2 separate regions of the Homo sapiens genome follow, and region 1 is linked to region 2. Evidence: promoter capture Hi-C in human tissues and cell types (Jung and others, 2019). All regions are on one chromosome and are shown on one strand. The core of a region is centred on a gene start or on the middle of the fragment in contact, and the rest is flanking DNA. Distances in the headings are between cores, read along the strand shown.

The links. Contacts are between HindIII fragments. The study calls those that stand out against the background at their distance.
Region 1: a contact is called between a fragment that was not itself captured here and the fragment with the promoter of CES4A in region 2, in 5 of the 25 tissues and cell types used here (aorta, dorsolateral prefrontal cortex, lymphoblastoid cells and 2 more).

Annotation. Positions count from the first base shown.
Region 1 is chr16:67,085,696-67,090,672 of GRCh38, forward strand. The region is part of intron 5 of CBFB (core-binding factor subunit beta); the gene reads left to right. Among named protein-coding and RNA genes, the nearest start is that of PHAF1, 22 kb to the right of the region's middle. The HindIII fragment of the contact is 5,567 bases long and covers 866-4,977 here.
Region 2 is chr16:66,985,398-66,990,341 of GRCh38, forward strand. CES4A (carboxylesterase 4A) reads left to right here and starts at 3,192. Exons shown (of 14, transcript NM_001364782.1): 1 at 3,192-3,433. The coding sequence starts at 3,376. The HindIII fragment of the contact is 42,626 bases long and covers 1-4,944 here.

The DNA of each region.
Region 1 (4,977 bases), core at 2,399-4,898, 100 kb after region 2:
GAGACGGAGTCTCGCTCTGTCGCCCAGGCTGGAGTGCAGTGGCGCATTCTCAGCTCACTGCAAGCTCCGCCTCCCTGGTTCAAGCCATTCTTCTGCCTCAGCCTCCCGAGTAGCTGGGACCACAGGCGCCCGCCACCATGCCCGGCTAATTTTTTGTATTTTTTAGTAGAGACGGGGTTTCACCGTGTTAGCCAGGATGGTCTCGATCTCCTGACCTCGTGATCTGCCCGCCTTGGCCTCCCAAAGAGCTGGGATTACAGGCTTGAGCCACTGTGCCCGGCTTAAAATTTAGTATCTTTTAGTGATTGCTAGATCTCTTTGTCAGTGAGTTAATTAATCTAATGGGCTGATAGCAGCTGAGGATGTCCCCAAGAATACTTGTTAGCTAAGAGAAGAAAATGGAGGGATATATGTGATACTTGTTTTCTTTGATGCTGTTGTAATTCTTGTGATTTTCATATATGTGAATACAAGACTTCCACACCATGCCCTTTCTTTCGGTATCTGTAAAATTTAGAAGCTTTAAAATGTATAATGTACATTTGTTACATTTCTGAACCTTTTTGCTCATGCTCTTTGTTCCCTGATGTAGAATGTTCTTTTCTGTCCGTCAAGGCCCAACCTGAATGTTGTCATTAAATGTCAGGCCTTTCCTCAGTCTTCTTAGTCATAATCATAAAGCCCTTCCATTCTGTAGCACTTTTTATTTCTACTAGTGTTCTTATTGAACAACATGTTGAAACAATTATAAACATTTGTGCCCTCCACTTTATGGCAATCCCATGAGATGGAGCCCCTGATTTTTGTGTCTTCCACATTACCTACCACAATCCTTTGTACACTGCTTAGTTGTTCATTGGATATCTTCAAAAAACAGCCCCTATCCTGCCTGTCTGAAAACTAGAATTATAGGAGAGCCTGCTATGATAGTTCATGTAGATAATACATATTAATGGTCTCTGGAAAGATTCTAAATATTTATAATGTGTTGGTTTATATTAACTAGTTAAGTAAAGTAATAAACCCCAAGTGTGTTGGTCTGTATTCTGCATTAGGGACTGAGAAATATATAGATGAAAATGCATTGTTTCTGTCTTTGATCAGCTGTCAGTCTTGTGGGAAAATGATGGATAAACAGATCATTGCAGTGTACTTTAGCAACCACCATACATAATGGAGGTTCAAAAGGGACAGCAGCAGTGTAGAGGAAGCTTAAGTCTGCCTCTGCTTGGGAAATTCACAGGGTAGTATACTTAGAGGGATTTGAAGGAAGAGTGTGTTTTGCCAGCTGTTCAAGTTGGAGAAAGCATTCTGGGCAGGACAAACAGTGTATGCAAAGGCATGGAGGAGTAAGGAGGAGTAAGAGAGCCTGCCAAGTCAAGAGAGTGTGATTGGTCAGTATTTCTGGAGCAAGCTAACATGGCTTTAAATGAATATAGGAATCATTTTCTAAAAAGTGCTCTTCAGCTACATTATATTTGGAGATTAACTATTTGACAATTAATGGAACAACTGTTGAAAGCTTTTGTATGTATTTTGCTTTACATAAAACTCTAGATTAATTGACTAAGAATTTTCTATTCTAAATTGTGGTGGCTCACACCTTTAATCTCAGCACCTTGGGAGGCTGAGGGAGGATTGCTTGAGCCCAGGAGTTCAAGACCAGCCTGGGCAACACAGCAAGACTTTGTCTCTACAAAAAATTTAAAAACTAGCTAGGCATGGTAGCATGTGCCTGTGTTCCCAGCTACTTGGGAGGCTAGGTGGGAGGATCGCTTGAGCCCAGGAGGTCAAGGCTGTAGTGAACTATGATTGTGACACTGCACTCCAGCCTGGGCAACAGAGCAAGACCCTGTCTCCCTGACCCCACAAAAAGAAATAAATACATTGTTAATTTGATTTTTCTAATTTAAAATGTTGGAAGAATATTTTGGTATGTGAGTTTATATGTATATATGAACAGAAATATAGTCTGTTGATAGAAGTGTCACATAATTTGTTGCTCAGATAGATTGTTTCTACTTGTTTTTTTGTCAGTGATTGAGAGCATGGGCTTTGTAGTCAGGCCTAGTTGAGATTCCTGCTCCGTCACTTGCCTCAAGAGCCCTAATTTTCTCACAGAATTTGAGTATTAAATGGGAAAATGCTTGTAAAGCACTTAGTATGATGCTTGGTATGTGTATGCCTACAGTAAATAATAGCTCTGAAGTACTTCTTTTTAGCACTAAAAGCTCCACCATAATGCTGGTTCCAGTTAATTGAATTATTTGGCTAACAAGAACATCCTTTTAGTTCTCTGAAGTGTATCAAGGCACTTTCCCTACATTATGACCTAGAGCATAGAGAAAAGAGTTATATTTTCATCAATGATTTAAGATCCTGTAGTCCCTTATGGCAGTAATTTAAAACATCAGTTCTTGTAGAGAACTGTCATCTGGAAAATTGGGCTGGAATCTGACTCCAGCACATGCACTGGCAATCACATAGGGGAGTTTGGGGTTTGTGTGTCTTTTGGCACTTAGCGTGTATATATTTTGCTTCTTTGTCTTTTTTTTCCATCCATAAAAAATTCCTAATGTCACCTTATTTTCTTGCAGTTTACCTTCTTTTTCCTAAAAAGAGAATATTGGAGAAAAATGTTGTTTCCCCTCTGTGATTCAGATTATCTTTAGAGATTCAAACATCATCTAATCTAACATTATTACAGTTGATAAAACTGAGAGTCTCCAAAAAATTAATTGACTTGCTCTCCCTCAAATATTTGGTTAATGGAAGAAACAGTGAGTATTTAAACCAGTTTCCTAACCAGGAGGCCTGCACAAATACAGCTTAGCGCTGGGAAATTAATTTCCACACCACCCGTAAAGATGCTTAAGCTGAAAAATAAAATCTGCCAGGAGAGATTAAGAACCGTTTTGCCTGGAATAGAAAAGGCTGAGGCAGAAAAGAAAAATAATGGTTCTAGTGGGTGGTCCTGATGCCTGACTGGAGAGGAGGGCCAGAGAACAGTGGTAACTCATGGGTGGCAGCAAGTCAGTAAACGGCCTGTGGAAGCTTGAGATCCTAGCAGCACAGAGGTTTAGGGATGTCCTCCACTGTTTGGATAACTTCTGAGGCCTCCAGCCCTGCCATGCTAAACTTGTAACAGTGGTGCTCGTGAGTATTTAATCTATGTGTAAGGTTAAGATTACTAAGGGGGGAAGCAGAACTCCAAGTGGTTGGTGGCCCAAGGGGTTTTGATTTTCAACAGTGTCTTTTAACCTGAAACTAGTTATAAAATTCCTTGAGCATTCTTCCATTTCACCATGTGTAAAATTTAGAAAGTTTTCGATCCTTCATGATAGGATTTAGTGTTTTCTTTTTCTCATTTTTCTGGAACAGCCTATTTCAGTAGTACAATATTTTCTTTACCTTTCAGAGGTAATGGCAGATTATCATTAACTTGAAATGAGAAACTATAGTGAAATGAAGAAGCATTGTTTATGTTAGTAACCTTTACCAAATACTCTTGTCATTGATATACATTAAAATGATATACATAAGGTACACAGTACTGTGTATAATATCTTACTCTCTGGGTATTTTTCCTACTCTGTGGGTAATTTTTGTTTAAATGTGCATAGTCATTCTCTAGTAGAATATCTAAGAAACTGGAACTAGAAACTATGGGGGAGAACCAGGTACCTGGGGGACAAAATAAGCAAATTATTATTTTTCACTGTGTATCTTCTGTACCTTATGAATTTTGTATCATTAATTATTTAGAAAAAAATAAAATTTGCTTTCAGTATTACACAGAATAATGAAAACAGAAGATTCTAGACCTTGCTATCTCTATTCTCTGGCATATAGGCTGTTTTTTATGTGAAACCCTTCCTCCATTTGAAATTGTATACAGAGCCCCACTGTATAAAACAGTTTTTTTAAAAGGCACTGCTCTGGGCAAAGCCAGGGTAGGGATTGTTCTGGTCTCCCTCTGGTGTCCCTGGGGGTGTTTTTACGGAACCCAGTGGGTGGCAGAACATAATGAGGACTCTGGATGTAGTGGAATGAGCACAAGGTTTTGCATCCCGGCTCCACTACTTGTTGCCATATAGCATTGAGAAAGTTGCTTATTCTCATTGAGCCTCATCAGTAAAAACTCCCTCCCAGGTTGTTGCAGAGCTCAGTATCTGAGGCTTAGAATGGGGACTCAGTGGAAGCCAGTTTCTTTACCCCTTCTTTCTGTGTACTTGGCTCACAATATATCTGGAGTGGCAGGAAAACAGTAAAAGTAGTCATATCCTAACTTTAGACTATGAAAGTCGAAGATACTATTTTGCCAAGCCATTTTAGATTCTGGTGTTTTTTGTTTGGTTGGTTGGTTTGGTTTTTTAAAACAACCAGTAAAGGATTTTGGACTTTTCTTGGCTCTGTTGGAGGCTACCAGTTACTGTGGGGATTGAGTAGTGACTAGAAGTGGGTATGAAGAGAACTTCCCATGTTCTGGTAATGTTAGTTCTTGACCTGGGTGCTAGTTAGGTGGGTGTGTTCGCTTTGTGAAAATTCTTCATTACATACTTAACAATTTGGGCACTATTCTGTACTTGTATAAAAAGAAGGCTTTTAAAAATAAAAAATAATCACAGACGTTACTTTTGTGAAATGCTCTCCATTGGCATCTGTTGCTATATAGAAGCATCCTAGCACCTTTTCTGTCTGAGAATCCTTCCTTGATCTGAAAATGTTGACATGTTTCCCATGACCTTTCTTTTTGGGGTATATATGTCTATAACTAATTCAAATGTCTTTTGTGAAGGAAGATGGAGGTTAATAAAGGACAGATTTCATGCTCTGATCATAGTTGAGTTAGAAAGATAGCAACTTGTACACTAGTCTCTGTTTCCAGAGACTGCCTTCAACTTGATTGGCCTTTTGACCTAAAACTGTAATATAGCACTCTTGGCTTTTAACTCAGCTCCAAGGTGACAGGGTGCT
Region 2 (4,944 bases), core at 1,942-4,441:
GCTTCCTCACCTCCCAAAGCCTAATATCCATACTCCTATTGTTGTGGCCACAGCCTATAAGAGAATCTGGCAGAATGAGGCTGTGAGGATAGGCAGGCAGTCAACAGAGAGAGATGTGGTCCAGGCCAGGTGGAGCTGCTGGTAGTCCCTGCTTTCCTGGTCCTGCCCACCCTGTCCTCCCATCCCTATACCTTTAAACCTCACACTGACTGAACCCTCAACTAATGTTCATTTTTTTAAATATGGAAAATACCACTTTGAGAGGCTGAGTCAGGTGGATCACCTGAAGTCAGGAGTTTGAGACTATCCTGGCCAACGTGGTAAACATGCTACTAAAAATTGAAAAATTAGCTGGCTGTGGAGGTGAGCACCTGAATTCCCAGCTACTCAGGAGGCTGAGGCAGGAGAATTTCTTGAACCCAAGAGGTGGAGACTGCAGTGAGCCAAGATCATGTTATTGCACTCCGGCCTAGGCAACATGAGTGAAACTCCATCTCAAAAAATAAATACATAAATAAATATGGAAAATATGTGGCCGGGCGTGGTGGCTCACGCCTGTAATCCCAGCACTTTGTGAGGCTGAGGCAGGTGGATCACTTGAGATCAGGCGTTCAAGACCAGACTGGCCAACACAGTGAAACCCCGTCTTTACTAAAAATACAAAAATTAGCTGGGGGTGGTGGCACAGGCATGTAGTCCCAGCTACTTGGGAGGCTGAAGCAGGAGAATCGCTTGAACCCAGGAGGCAGAGGTTGCAGTGAGCCGAGATCGGGCCACTGCACTCCAGCCTGGGCAACAGAGTGAGACCCTGTCTCAAAAATAAATAAATAGGCCAGGCACAGTGGCTGTTGCCTGTAATCCCAACACTTTGGGAGGCCGAGGCAGGCGGATCACGAGGTCAGAAGATTGAGACCATCCTGGCTAACATGATGAAACCCTGTCTCTACTAAAAATACAAAAAATTATCTGGGCGTGGTGGCATGCGCCCGTAGTCCCAGCTACTCAGGAGGCTGAGGCAAGAGAATTGCTTGAAACTGGGAGGCAGAGCTTGCAGTGAGCTGAGGTGGCGCCACTGTACTCCAGCCTGGGCGACAGAGTGAGACTCTGTCTCAAAAAAATAAATAAATAATAAAAGTGGGTCTTGTTTTTTGTTTTTTGTTTCGGGGTATTTTGGTTAGAGACAGAGTCTTACTCTGTCTTGACCGCCTGGGCTCAATTGATCCTGCTGCCTCAGCCTCCCAAGTAGCTGGGTCTGCAGGCATGTACCAGCACATCTGGCTGACTTTTTAATTTTTTGTAAAGACAGGGTCTCACTATGTTGTCCAGGCTGGCCTTGAACTCCTGGCCTTAAGCGGTCCTCCTGCCTTGGCCTCCTAAAGTGCTGAGATTACAGGCGTGAGCCACCACAAGTTAACACGTTATGCTGGGGAGGAGTTAGGGGAGAGATTTTCTTTGTAGAGACCTGTTACCTCGCTGTGAGTTCTCACCCCACTTCTTTCCCCTCAAGCCTGTGGGCATGAGACCATGGGGAAGATGAGTGGTGCTTTCCACCATAGGAGGCTCAGCCAGCCAGAGCCTGACTCCACCCCGCCATCGTGAGTGGGGCAGAAGGGGCTGCAATGGGATGGGCCACACCTCTGCTGAGGTGGGGCAAGGGATATTGGAGGTTTGCCCATGTAGACCCCACAGGATAAGTGGCAGAGGCAGGGGTGGGGGGTCATCTTGGGCCTTCATTAGAGGAGCACAGAGCCCAGGCAGCAATGATTGGGCAGTGAATGCCACATTCCTTGGGACTGAGGAAGGGTCACAAGGATGGGAACTGTGGGAGAGGAGTCCCAAATAAAGAGCATCTCCGAAGAACTCAGAAAATTGACTGTGAAAGAAGGAGGTTTAACCATCTGTCAGGCCTATAGAGCAAGAGGCTGTGGGCCAAGGGAGAAGTTCTCTGTTCCCCTGCCTTTTCCCCTCCCCAGCACAGAAGCCCAACAGACCCTCTTTTCACAAAGATGGGCCAGGACCCCAGACTTTGGGGGTACACGAGAGAGGAAACATCTTACCTTTTTTTTGTTCTTTGAGATGGAGTCTCACTCTGTCGCCCAGGCTGGAGTACAGTGACGCCATCTTGGCTCACTGCAAGCTCCGCCTCCTGGTTTCAAGCAATTCTCTTGCCTCAGCCTCCTGAGTAGCTGGAACTACGGGCGCGTGCCACCACGCCCGGATAATTTTTTGTATTTTTAGTAGGGACGGGGTGTTAGCCAGGATGGTCTCGATCTTCTGACCTCGTGACCCGCCTGCCTCAGCCTCCCAAAGTGTTGGGATTACAGGCATGAGCCACCGTGCCTGGCCTATTTATTTTTGAGACAGGGTCTCACTCTGTCACCCAGGCTGGAGTGCAGTGGCCCGATCTCGGCTCACTACAACCTCCGCCTCCCAGGTTCAAGCCATCCTCCTGCCTCAGCCTCCTGAGTAGCTGGGACTACAGGCACACACTACCACGCCCAGCTAATTTTTGTATTCTTTGTTTTAGTAGAGACGGGGTTTCACCATGTTGGCCAGGCTGGTCTCGAACTCCTGACCTCAGGTGATCCACCTGCCTCAGCCTTCCAAAGTGCTGGTATTACAGGCATGAGCCACCACACCCAGCCCCATCTTACCTTTGACTGAAGATGGGACTGCTGTCTCCTTGCTTCCACCTCCCACACTTGCTCCTGTGGCTCCAAACTTCAAACAGGATCTTTCTTTGCCTGGCCCACTCCTCCTCATCCTTTACTTAGAAGATTAGATCTTTTCCAGGGAATCTTCATTCCCACCACCCGGCTCTGGGCTCACTCCTCGGGTGCCCCTCTGGGCTCCCACATTACGGTTGCTTTCAGGTCCAGCTTCCGCATGTGGACTATGAAACTGTGAGGACAGCCAAGGGTCAGCATGTGCGAGGAAAGGCAGGGAAGAGGCTAGACGAGGCACTGGGGAGCAGGGAGGCCCAAGACCCTTAAATCCACAGACAGGAAGCCCTGGCTGAAGGGCCAAGTAACCAGGTGTTCTACTTCAATCTTGGCACCCACTGTATGCTTAGACCTTGACTCACACATGTTCAGCTTTAAGCCACTGCACAGATGAGCAAACGGGGCGGAGATTGCAGGCTGATCAGTTTGAAGAGCCAAGATCATCTAGCGTGACCTGTTGCCCAAGGCAGAGACAAGGCTGTGGGCTGGTCAGAAGCTGGTTACAATTCCTCCCGCCCCAGTACTTGCTGGCAGGGATTAAGAGCAGATAAAAGTGTGCTCACACACTGTAGACACGGCTACCATGCCATCCACAGTGTTGCCATCCACAGTGTTGCCATCACTCCTGCCCACAGCAGGAGCTGGCTGGAGCATGAGGTGGATTCTGTGCTGGAGCCTCACCCTCTGCCTGATGGCGCAGACGGCCTTGGGTAAGACCCCCACCCCTTCCCGAGAGTGTCAGGCAAGACGGGCACAAGGGATGGAGGGACAGGCCCCAGTTCAACCTCTCCTGGGGACAGCAGGGCAGGAGCACTTAGACAAGGCCTGGGCAAATGGAGGGTAGGGTTTCAGGACACTAAACCATCTACCAGCTGGGAGTCTGGACAAGTCCTTTAGCCTCCCTGAACCTCAGGGCTTCTCTGTATTTCCTGCCTCCCGGCACAGGTGAAGGGGTCTGAGAACATGGCCACATCTTTTCTTCCTTCCCACCTTTTTCCTTCCTTCCATCCTTCTTTCCTTCTCCTAAGCAGGAGGCCTGTCTCTGCCCCCTCTCTGCTACATGAACCTCTTTACCACCTTCAAATTTCTCCCCAATATCTTTCTTTTTAAAATGAGTACTACACTTTTTACTGTGAAAACAATCTAATACATTAACAAAAGTTTACTGAGGTATAAGATGTATACAGCAAGGTGCACACATCTTCACTGTATAATTATATCTATTATACTAATTATTATATATATATATATGGTAACCATTATCCAGATCAACATCTAGAACATTTCCAGTGGGTTAGGCATGGTAGCTCATGCCTGTAATTCCAGCACTTTGAGAGGCTGAGGTGGGAGGATTACTTGAGCCCAGGAGTTTGAGACCAGCCTGGGCAAATAGTGAGACCTAGCCTGGGTAAATAGACTCTGTCTCTATTTTTAAAAAACATTTTTTAAAAAGTTTTTTTAACTTACAAGGATACACCTGTAATCCCAGCACTTTGGGAGGCCGAAGCGGGCAGATCACCTGAGGTCAGGAGTTTGAGACCAGCCTAACCAATATTATTACCCCGTCTCTACTAAAAATACAAAACTAGCCAGGCATGGTGGCACATGCCTGTAATCCCAGCTACTCAGGAGGCTGAGGCAGGAGAATCGCTTGAAGCCAGGAGGCAGAGGTTGTAGTGAGCCGAGATCGTGCCATTGCACTCCAGCCTGGGCAACAAGAGCGAAACTCTATCTCAAAAAAAAAAACAAAAAACCATCTCCAGCGTCCCATGTACTCCTTCTCAGTCAATACTCAAAGTTACCACTAGTCTGACCTCTATCATAAATAAATTTTGCCCATATATACATATATCCATTATTTTAAATTTGAAGGAAACTTTGCTTACTCCGCTTTTAACATTTTGGCGCATTTTCTTTTCATCTTTTCTTTTTTTTTTTTTTTTTTTTTGAGACGGAGTCTCGCCCTGTCACCCAGACTGGTGTGCAATGGTGCCATCTCCGCTCACCGCAACCTCCACCTCCCGGGTTCAAGCAATTCTCCCCACCTCAGCCTCCCAAGTAGCTGGGACTACAGGCGTACACCACAAGCCCAGCTAATTTTTGTATTTTTTTAGTGGAGATGGGGTTTCGCCATGCTGGCCAGGCAGGTCTCGAAATTCTGACCTGAGATGATCCACCTGCCTCGGCCTCCCAAAGTGCTGGGACCGCAGGCATGAGCCAC